Regions from separate parts of the Homo sapiens genome. Here all the other regions are linked to region 3. The links are contacts of gene promoters, found by promoter capture Hi-C in blood cells and fetal thymus (Javierre and others, 2016). All regions are on one chromosome and are shown on one strand. Each heading gives the region's core, a stretch centred on a gene start or on the middle of the fragment in contact. The rest is flanking DNA. Distances are from core to core; before and after follow the strand shown. Region 1 has its middle 87 kb from the start of JPH2. Region 2 has its middle 9.0 kb from the start of GTSF1L. Region 3 holds the start of TOX2 (TOX high mobility group box family member 2). Region 4 overlaps TOX2 (TOX high mobility group box family member 2).

Region 1 (2,700 bases), core at 39-2,538, 190 kb before region 3:
CAATGGCTGAACTAATTTACATTCCCACCAGCAGTGTATAAGTATTCTCTTTTCTCTGCAACCTCTCCAGCATCTGTTATTTTTTGACTTTTTAATAATAACCATTCTGATTGGTGTGAAATGGTATCTCATTGTGGTTTTGATTTACATTTCTCTAGTGATTAGTAATGGTGAGCATTTTTTCATATGCTTGCTGGCCATGTGTATGTCTTCTTTTGAAAAATGTTCATATCTTTTGCCCACTTTTTAACGGGGTTGTTTTTTGCTTGTTAATTTGTTTAAGTTCCGTATAGTTTCTGGATATTAGACTTTTGTTGGAGGTATAGTTTGCAGATATTTTCTCCCATTCTGTAGGTTTTCCATTTACTCTGTTGACAATATCTTTTTGCTGTACAGAGCTCTTTAGTTTGATTAGGTCCCATTTGTCAATTTCTGTTTTTGTTGCAATTGTTTTTGGAGTCTTCAACATGAAATCTTTGCGAGAAGCTATGTACAGAATGATATTTCCCAGGTTATCTTCCTGGGTTTTTATAGTTTTAGGTTTTACATTTAAGTCTTTAATCCATCTTGAGTTGATTTTTGTATACAGTGTAAGAAAGGGGTCCAGTTTCAATCTTTTGCATACGATTAGTCAGTTATTCCAGCACCATTTATTCAATAGGGAGTCCTTTCCCCATTACTTATTCTTTTAGTTTTGTGAGTAAACTCTTCTTTTCTTTCCCTCTGAAGTCTTGTCAGATTTTCTCCTAAGATTCAGTCTTCAGAATTTAAACAGAGCATGTGTCTAAGGTGAGTTCTTTAGGAATTAATCCAGTCCTGGAAACAACGTGCTCTTTCGGTGTCAAAATTTGAGACTTCCGGCCAGGTGCAGTGGCTCGTGCCTCTAATCCCAGCACTTTGGGAGGTGGGCAGATCACTTGAGGTCAGGAGTTCGAGACCAGCCTGACCAACATTGTGAAACCCTATCTCTACTAAAAATGTGAAAATTAGCCAGGTGCGGTGGCATATTACAGGTGGTGCACCTGTAAACCCAGCTACTTGGAAATCTGAGGCAGAAGTGCTTGAACCTGGAGGCAGAGGTTGCAGTGAACCGAGATTGCACCACTGCACTCCAGCCTGGGTAACAGAGCAAGACCCTGTCTCAAAAAAAAAAAAAAAAAAATCAGTCTTCAGCTCATTGAACTTATCCTCTCAAATAGGATTAATTGTCCAACTCTTCTAATTCTGTATTTCCCTGCAGCCTGGATTCTCGTGGGGTGTTTTGCACCTGCCTCCTAAATGTCCTCCCTTCCCCTGGTCTACCTGTTCTTTCATCCCTATGAGGAGATGTCCTATCACTTACTATACCATGATTCCCATTTATTCCAGTCCAACTATTGGATATTTCTTTTAATTTTTCAAACATTTTACTTCCAGAAAGTCATCAAACCCAAATTGCATTTTCTTGAAAGTTCTTATTTATTTGTTATTAAAGTTTTCTCATCTCTTCCACTAACTCTTTCACCTTCTTTAGGAGTTAATTGTACAAATTGCCTTTCTTTTTCCTTTTGCTTTTTTATGCCAGGGTAGTTAATAGTGGAGGTAGTGAAAACCAACCACTTAAAAACTAACAAGCAGACACTAAGTCTTTTAAATGCATGATAACATGTAATCCTATCAACGATATAATTAGACAGACACTATCATCATCCCTATTATGCAGATGAGGAAACTGGTGGCCAGAAAATTTACATGATTTACCCCGAGTAATTTACCGTGACTCCAGGGCCCACCCTTTTAACCTCCACCCTCCATCCTCTATCTCTTGGTGGTAGAGAGGGTAATTACCTCCTCTCGTAACTATTTTCCTTTGCTATTCCTGGCCACTAGGTTCTCTGAGCTTTCTTATAGGTCACGACATAAAAGTGTTGATCAGGGCAAACTAGCAGCGAGCAGAACGCCCTGTGAGTGCTTATCTAACAAGCTGGCAACTTGCAAATATATCTAATATTCAGGAAAACTTTGTAGCTGCATTTAAAAACTCTCCCAGCTGCAGAGATTTGAGTCCTGCCTGCTTCAGGTCCATGGTATTGAGCCAAATAACGCCACACTCAGCAGACAGAAGACAGCCCTTTGTGAATATCAGAGGCTGGCAAAACATGGCTGGTGGGCAAAATCTGGCCCGATGTCTGATTTGTTTTTTTTTTTGGTCTTTGAGCTAAGAACAGTTTTTACATATGTATGTATGTATGTATGTATGTATGTATGTATGTATGTATGTATTTTTGAAACAGAGTATCACTCTGTCACCCAGGCTGGAGTGCAGTGGTGGGATCTTGGCTCACTGCAACCTCCAGCTCCCGGGTTCAAGCACTTCTCCTGCCCCAGCCTCCTGAGTAGCTGGGATCACAGGCATGAGTCATCATGCCCAGATAATTTTTGTATTTTTAGTAAAGACAGGGTTTCACCATGTTGGCCAGGCTGGTCTCGAACTCCTGGCCTCAAGTGATCCGCCCACCTTGGCCTCCCAAAGTACTGGGGTTAAAGGCATGAGCCACCATGCCCAGCTGGTTTTTACTGTTTTAAATGGTTAGGGTGGGAAACAAAGGAAGACTAGTTCATGATGTGAAAAATCATGTAAAATTCACATTTCAGTGTTATGAATAAAGTTCTATTGGCCCACAGCTATGCTCATTTAATGATGTATTTTCAACCTTCATA
Region 2 (2,700 bases), core at 57-2,556, 200 kb after region 3:
CTTGCCACACTAGCCTGGGAAACATCAGGCCTGGATCAATCCTCATGACCAAGTTCCCCAAACTCCTGATCAAACAGCAGCTGGGCCCCCAGCACCTCCTGAGTGGCAACCAATCTGCCTTCCCATGTGGGCTCTCCCTGTCCCCATGATGGCCAGGAGCTGTCAAATCTGACTCCTCCCCACTTTCTCTGAGCAGATGACTGGCCTCACGGTACCCCCTGCTTTACTTCAAAGTTCCCTCTGGCACATTTTATATCAATTGGTTGGTTTATATCTGTCTGCTTTTTAGAATTTAAGCTCCATGGCCGGGCGCAGTGGCTCACGCCTGTAATTCCAGCACTTTCGAAGGCTGAGGCACGCGGATCACAAGGTCAGGAGATCGAGACCATCCTGGCTAACACGGTGAAACCTTGTCTCTACTAAAAATGCAAAAAAAAAATTAGCCGGGCATGGTGGTGGGTGCCTGTAGTCCCAGCTACTCGGGAGGCTGAGGCAGGAGAATGGTGTGAACCCAGGAAGCGAAGCATGCAATGAGCCAAGATCGCACCACTGCACTCCAGCCTGGGCAACAGAGCAAGACTCCATCTCAAAAAAAAAAAAAAAAAAAAGAATTTAAGCTCCATGAGAATAAGGTAGTTTTTTGGTTTTTGTCTTTTGAGATAGGGTCTTGCTTTGTCACTCAGGCCGGAGTAGAGAGGCACAACCACAGCTCAAGAGATCCTCCCACCTCAGCTTCCTGAGTAGCTGGGACTACAGGCATGAGCCATCATGCTATCATGCTAAGTTTTTAAAATTTTTTGTAGAGATGGGGTTTCACCATGTTGCCCAGGCTGGTCTCAAACTCCTGGGCTCAAGTGATCCTCCCACCTCAGCCTCCTAAAGTACTAAATTACAGGCATGAGCCACCACACCTGGCCTGGTTTCTATCCTTTACTGCTATATCTTCAGCACTACAACTATGCCAGACATGTGGGGGTAGGGTTGGAGGGTCCCTCAATAAATGTGGTTTTGTTTTTGTTTTTGAGACAGTGTCTCCCTCTGGTTGCCCAGGCTGGAGTGCAGTGGAATGATCTCAGCTCACTGCAGCCTCGACCTCCTGGGCTCAGGTGATTCTCCCACCTCAGCCTCTCGAGGAGCTGGGACTAAAGGCACATGCCACCATGCCCAGCTAATTTTTTCTATTTTTTTTTTAGTAGACAGAGGGTTTCATGATGCTGCCCAAGCTTATCTCAAACTCCTAGACTCAAGCAATTTGGCCTCCTCGGCCTCCCAAAGTGTTGGGATTACAGGCGTGAGCCACCATACCCGGCCTAGTATTTATTTAATGCATGAACCAAAGAACAAGCCCACAGCACACAGAGCTCAGTGAGGATGGTATGTTAAGCTTGCTGTTACCTGCAGCCACTCTGTTCTTTACAGCCTCCTCCCTCCAGGACAGGAAAGGGCCTGAGGGCAGTCCCTGGGAATGAGCAAGACCTCAGGCAAGAGAGGGCATGGGGTACAAGCCCCTGGAGCCTCACAGGCGTCAGCTCAGAGTGTAGCCAGTCAACGCCCTGCATGTGAATAACCCACTGGTGGTTTGTTAAAAATCCCTTTTTGCAGGCTCCACCCCAGGTACCTGACTCAGAGGGCCCAGGAATTTTCATCATTAGCCTGCAGCGCACTGCATTTGAGTTTGACAAAGTTGTTCCACCGAGTCTTGGTGTGAGCTATAGGAGACAAGGTAATGCAGCCTCCATCCTCACCGTGGGGCACAGGTCATCCACCTTGGGTGACCAAGGACTGTAGGGAGCGGCCAGTGACAGACCTTGGGGAAGAAGTTGGGGAGGGGATAGGCTCCATGCTGACAAATCACAAAAGCTCAGGGCGTGAGTTAGGTGTGGTTCATCCATGGAACCTGCAGGTGCATGCAGCCCAGCCACATGGGCTGCGGGGTGCGGGGTGCAGGGTGGGAAGCACAGAGCCCCCGCCCCTCCTCGGCTTTAGATCAAGAACTGGGACACTGCCAGGACCAAGCACGGCATGCCTGCATGTGAATGGACAGGAGTAGGGGGACTGTAGGCGGGAGCTCAGCAGGGAGAAAGGGGTGTGTCTGAGGCCAGACACATCTGAACTCTGGCACCCTAATTAACTCAGTCCCCATCCCTCTAGAGTTGGCCGCATCTCTTGCCCCAGGTGAGGACCTGCCCCAAGTCTGCTCAACCTCTGCCCACAGGGATGTTCATGTGCCTGTCCCATGAAGCCTGCTGCTGAAAACATCAATTCCTCATTTAGACATTCTCAGACTTGGCATCTTCCCCTCTTCAATCCCCAGTGACTCTTCCCAACCACCTGCCAAGCACTGTGCTCTGTAGCCACAACCCTAGGGATTTAGGGCCACAAGGGCAGAGGCTCTGGCCCATCCTGGCCTCCTGCTCAGCCTTGGCCAATGGGGCTAGAGGGTTCTGCCCAGCTGCCTTCACCCCTCTTCCTTGCTTACTGGTCTGACCTGGGGGCCACGCTCAGCTTGAGGCAGGGGCTTGTTAATGGGCAGGTGAGCCACCCAAGGCAAGGGCCAGGCAAGGCCCTACTGCACCAACCCATCGTCCTCCTCCGCCCCCAGTCTCTGCCCACCCCCGCCCAACCCCATGGCTATTAATACTCAGAGCTTTGCAGAGATGCCCACTGGGTGCAGAGACGAGAGAAATTGCTCTCATCTCA
Region 3 (2,700 bases), core at 106-2,605:
CGCATCGCCACGGAGCCCACGCGTCTGCGCCAGGGCTGCGGGAAACCCACGCGCGCTGTTCAATCCGGGCTCCGAGTGACGAAAACCCGCGCTTGGCTCCAGCCGGCCCGGGACCGACGCACCGACTGGCGGACGCGCGGACAGTCTGGCTTCCTAACTAAGTTTGAAAGTTCCCTCTCCGGCGACCGAAGGGGACGCGGACTGCTTAGAGGCACCCAACCCATCCAGGCTGGGCCAGACCCGGCAGTGGGACCTGACGCCTCGGGTTCGGGGTTCCAGGCACGCAAGCCTCCATCACTGGGAATGCGCCCGGCGCAGCGCAGCTGGGACCTGGCTGGGGTGGGGGGATAGATCCTGGAAACATGGAGGAGGGAGGGTGTCCGGCACTACAGCCCCAGCCTGGAGGGACGCCGGCTCACCGCTCCCGGGAGGACACAGGCCTCGATTGGCCGCAGCCTACTCGGAATCCGAGGCCCCGCCAGGCAGTGACGGCCAATTAGTAAACTGCCCAATTAGTGTGCTGCGGCGCTGAGAAGTTAAACCTCGACGCGCGAGTGTGGATGACCGAGGTGTGGCCGTCCCTGGGTGTGACCGCGTGTGACTGTGTGGCCGTCAGGACGATCTGTGTCTGAGGCTCACCGTCCAGGGGGGTGGCTGTGTGTGACAGCGTGCGCCTGGGTGAGGCGTTGTGGCTGCGAGAGTGTGACTGTCGGGCGACTTCTTTGTGTGACTGTCCCCCGTTGTGCCTGGGTGTGACAGCGGGTGGGGGCATGTCACGGTGTGTGGGGCATCGGAGCGTCTGTGGGTGACTCGTCTGTGGCGGTGAGGCTGTTTGCGGGTGAGTGGTTGCGTGTCGTTGTGTATAAGTGACTGTCAGGGTGACTTGCGTGGGACGGCGGGACCGTGTAAGCAGTGCCTGGCCGCCTGCGTGTGGCTGTGGGTCACTGTGACGGCTTGTGAATGACTGCGAGGCTGTCAGGGGGACGCGAGTGAGGGGCCACTGTGTCGTCGCACGGGTGGCTGTCGGGATGACTTCTGCCCGCGATCCCAACAACTCAGGGCGTGAGCGTGGCCGCGAGGGGATCGATGTGAGCCGCCCGTGCCCGTCGGCGGGGCTGATGTGCGCGGCCCCGTGTGACCCCGGGAGCGCCTGAGTCCCGAGCTGCCAGGTGACTCCGGCCCCGCCCGCCGGGGACCCCCGCCCGCCCCCGCCTACCTTGCCGCCGTGGTAATAGTCCAGGTGCGCCAGGCCGGCCGGCTCGGCCCCGGGCCGCGCGCCCACCGCGGGCGCCGAGGGGTACAGGCGGACGTCCATGGCGGGCGCGGCGGCGGCGGCGGCGGCTCCCGCGGGCAGTGCCTGGGCGGGCGGCGGGTGGGAGCCAGTGTGCGAGCGGGACTGCGAGCGCGGGGGGCGGGCCGGGGGCGGTGCCCAGAGGAGCGCCCCGCCCCCGCCCCCGCCCCGCCCGCGCGCGCTATTGTTCCGGCCTCGGGCGCTGCCTAGGGCCGGGGGCCCGGGGGCCCGGGCCGGGGCGTGGAGGTCCTTCCTCCGGGCTGGGCCGCCGCCGGGTCCCCCGCCCGGCCCTGCATCCCTGAGGGGGGCGCGCCTGTCCAGACGGCGCTTTTCCGTCCCGCCTTTCGCCACCCACGGTGAGGAGAGAAGCCCGAACGGCACCCCTCCCCAGAAGTGGGACACTCCCTTGCCCTAAATATTTGAGGCGGCGCTAGTCCCCGCCCCGCGGCGTGGGTGCGGGGGGAAGAGGAAGGTGGTGACAGGACCACTTTGGAGATGGGTGCTGCCTTACCTGGGGGGACGCAGGCCAGCGCCGGAGGATGCTCTTAGCATGCCCGCCCCCTCCTCGTCTCACTGATCTGAGTCAGCTTGACAGCCCCCCCTGGAGATTGCCGCGCTTAAACTCTCACTCACATATGGGGAAACTGAGTCAAAAACTTGCAGCATCAGTAATGGAGCTCCAGGCGGGTGGGCTCCGTTGCCCCCAAAGGATCCAGAGCTGAAACCACTTGGAGAAGGCAGCAGGACCCCACCCCTTTTAATGATAGGGAGGGGAGGGCCGCAGGAATGCCTAGAGCCCGAAGCTCTGAAGAGGGGTCTAGGATCTGCCCACAGTCACGGTCTCTTGGAGTGAGGAAAGGAAGAAAATGAGATTGGAATGGGATGGCTCTGATGGTGGGTCAGAAAGGTGACTGTGAAATGGGGTTCCTCCCCAACCAAAAAAAAAAAAAAAACCCTCTAGTTCTTGATATCACTTGCTGGTTGCTAGACTGTTGCACCCCCATCCCCCTTTTCATGCAAGAATTGTCTACACTAGCAATCTCCCCTAGCAATCTCACTGCTCACTGACTGCTCCAGGTATGTCTGACTGGGAGAGGCCAGGAGGCGAAGTCAGCCAGAATGGCATTCTTGTGTGGCACCAGGATATAGGATGCCATTGGGAGAAAAGGACTTGAGCTTCCTGCCCACTCAGGAGCTAGCTTAGAACTTAGTTCTCAACTGCTGCTTGGGCTTTGCTGGTCCTGGCCTAGAACTAGGACCATAAGAAAGATGCATTAACAAAAGATAGGTGTGGGAAACAGGCATTCACTGAAGGCTTGGGAACAACAGAGGGAAATTATAGCTCAGAAAGGAAAGAACTTCCAAATAAATTTCAGCAGTCATTGTTTCTAGAAATACAATGCCACACC
Region 4 (2,700 bases), core at 14-2,513, 140 kb before region 3:
CTATGTCAGAGGGAAGATCTGGGACTCAAGGCTGCTATTCAGATTCTCCTGTCCCTTGGGGTTCTCCCCCTTCCCCTAGGGATGTGGTTTCCTGAGAGCCCTGCTGCAGTGATTGTTATTTCTCTTCTGGATCTAGCCACCCAGCGGAGCTACCGGGCTCTGGGCTAGTACTGGGGAGTGTCTGCAAAGAGTCCTGTGATGTGATCTGTCTTCAGGTCTCTCCTCCATGGATATCAACACCTGGTCCAGTGGAAGTAGCAGGGGAGTGAAGTGGACTCCATGAGGGTCCTTGGTTGTATTTTTAAGTGCACTGGTTTTGTGTTGGTTGGCCTCTAGCCAGGAGGTAGCACTTTCTAGAGCACATCAGCTGCAGTAGTATAGGGAGGATACAAGCTTGCCCTAGTGTCAGGTGGTGGGCGGGGCCATGGAGTTCCCAAGAGAGATTATGTCCTTTGTCTTAGGCTAACAGGGCAGGTAGAGAAAGACCATCAGGTAGGGGCAGGGTTAGGTGGGGCTTGCTGCAGATGCTGTGGGGGTTGTGGTTCCCAGAGGGATTATGGCTGACTGCTGCATCACACAGGTTGTCAGGGAAGTGAGGGAAAGCTGGCAGCCACAGGCTGGTCTCACTCCCACCATGCACCCCCAACAGCACCGAGTTTATTTCCAGGCAGCTAGTGAACAGGGCTGAGAACTTGCCCCAGGCTACAGGCCTCCCAGCTGAGAAAGCACGCCAACTCACAATTCCTTGGCTGTCCCAGAGAGCCTGCAGCAGCAATCCACATCCTTCAAAGTGTCTGTGGATTCTTTTGGCTTTCCTAGTATGTTCCTGTGGTAGTTCTTGGAGCAAAAGTTCACAATGTGAGTCTCCGTGCTCTGTCTGTCCGAGTGGGAGCTGCAAGTTAGTCCTGCCTCCTTCCTGCCATTTTTCTGCTCTAAAACTGCTCTTGGAACTCTGACTTGCTATGTGAATAAGCATGAGCTAGTCTGCTGGATGATGAAAGACACATGGCCCAGTTTGGCTCCACTGCTCCAGCTGACAGCCATCCAACTCCCAGAAGCAGAGATGCCTAATTTACTGTAGTTGACCACTGATGCAAATGGGTGAGCCCAGCCAAGAGCAGCAGCAGAACCATCCTGCTGAGCCCAGCACAGTTCATGGACCCTCAGAATCATAAGTTGAATAAATGATTATTGTTTTAAGCCATTAAATTTTGGTATTGTTTATTACACATTCAAAATTAAATGATGCAGTTAGCTTCATTATGTTTTAGTGTCAAGGTTACATTGTATATAAAGACTTGTGAAGGTTTTCTTATTTTTCTAAGTCTTGGAATTATTAGCTCTTTGATGATTTGAAAGAACTTTCCTATCCATCACCTAGGCTTGAAACTTTTGGGGGATAGGCAAGGTTTTTTTATTTCCTATTATTTTCTCACTACCTCTCTTGGTTATTAGTGTATTAATAGTAAAATAGGAATATAAGTCACATTTCTAAATGTGATTTCAAAAACTGACACAAGCTAACATCCAGCCTTATGCTTAATAGTGAAACATGAGAGGTAATGCAAAGTAAGAAGACCACTATCCCCGCCATTGCTGAACATCTCTTTTTTAGAAGTCCTAGTCAACATAACTGGGAAAAGAAAACAGAATTAGAAATCTGAGAAGTGAGGAGACAAAATAAGGAGATATGGCTGGATATAGTGGCTCATGCCTCTAATCCCAGCACTTTGGGAGGCCAAGGTGGGATGATCATTTGAGGCTAAGAGTTTGTCAGCCTGAGCAACACAGCAAGACCCTGTCTCTACAAAATACCAAAAAAAAGAAAAAATTTTGTGGGGCATGGTGATGCATGGCACGCCTGTAGTCCAGCTACTTGGGAAGCTGAGCTGGGAAAATTGCTTGAGCCCAGGAGTTCAAGGCTGCAGTGAGCTATGATCATGCCACTGACCTCTAGCCTGGGTGACAGAGTGACACCCTGTCTCTTAAAAAACAAATAACAAAGGAGACAAAATTATCATTTGTAAAAGATACATATGTATAAATATGTGTATAATTATAGACACTTTTTTTAAACCTAGAAGACTCAGGAATTAAAAATGATCAGAAATGATAAAATAAATAGTAAGCTTGGCAGTTACAAATTAAATTCCTAACTTTTTATACTCAACAATTTGCTAGGAAAATGGGGAGAAACAAGCCATTTATAACGCATTAAGTAAAAGAACGCATTAAGTAAAAGGAGAGAAATGCCCATTATCGGATGGAAATAAATATATGCCAAGTTCTTGGGTTAGAAATAAAACGTCAGACAGGTAAGCAGAAATGAAACCGACACAGGGGCTGGGACTCTCAACCACCTTTGCTTGCCTCTGGGCTGCGCTGAATGAGGTCAGAGAAAGCATCGGTGGAGGGAGTGCCCGGGGACATAGGACTTGAGACCACTGTCTCCCCAGACTGTATAAAACGGCAAGGAAATCCCCCCACCAAACAAAAACAACCTGAAGTCTTTTGAAAGGGAATTGGTTGCCAACGAAACACACAAGTGAAAATGACAGACGTCCCTATAGCAAAAGCCACAGTGCCCTGCCAATATCCCCCAGTCCTTACCCCTGTCCTACAAACATGCTCTACTTCCAGCTGCCACCGGCTATATTCCTTTGCCTGAGGGTCCCTCTGGTGGCAGGAGCCTGGCATGTG

Evidence for each region. Contacts are between HindIII fragments. The CHiCAGO score rates a contact against its expected background, and 5 or more counts as called.
Region 1: a contact is called between a fragment that was not itself captured here and the fragment with the promoter of TOX2 in region 3, in 1 of 17 cell types (naive CD8 T cells). The highest score is 5.2, in naive CD8 T cells.
Region 2: a contact is called between a fragment that was not itself captured here and the fragment with the promoter of TOX2 in region 3, in 4 of 17 cell types (neutrophils, total CD8 T cells, endothelial precursors and 1 more). The highest score is 6.3, in neutrophils.
Region 4: a contact is called between a fragment that was not itself captured here and the fragment with the promoter of TOX2 in region 3, in 8 of 17 cell types (activated CD4 T cells, M0 macrophages, endothelial precursors and 5 more). The highest score is 8.0, in activated CD4 T cells.

Annotation. Positions count from the first base shown.
Region 1 is chr20:44,099,140-44,101,839 of GRCh38, reverse strand. No RefSeq gene overlaps it. Among named protein-coding and RNA genes, the nearest start is that of JPH2, 87 kb to the left of the region's middle. The HindIII fragment of the contact is 3,805 bases long and covers 1-2,700 here.
Region 2 is chr20:43,716,649-43,719,348 of GRCh38, reverse strand. No RefSeq gene overlaps it. Among named protein-coding and RNA genes, the nearest start is that of GTSF1L, 9.0 kb to the left of the region's middle. The HindIII fragment of the contact is 161 bases long and covers 1,226-1,386 here.
Region 3 is chr20:43,913,507-43,916,206 of GRCh38, reverse strand. TOX2 (TOX high mobility group box family member 2) reads right to left here and starts at 1,355. Exons shown (of 9, transcript NM_001098797.2): 1 at 1,217-1,355. The coding sequence starts at 1,315. RefSeq lists silencers at 1-44, 1,115-1,204, 1,255-1,364, 1,385-1,484, 1,585-1,704 and enhancers at 183-900, 901-1,618. The HindIII fragment of the contact is 9,025 bases long and covers 1-2,700 here.
Region 4 is chr20:44,056,213-44,058,912 of GRCh38, reverse strand. All of the region lies in intron 5 of TOX2 (TOX high mobility group box family member 2), which reads right to left. Among named protein-coding and RNA genes, the nearest start is that of JPH2, 130 kb to the left of the region's middle. RefSeq lists a silencer at 2,637-2,700. The HindIII fragment of the contact is 1,736 bases long and covers 396-2,131 here.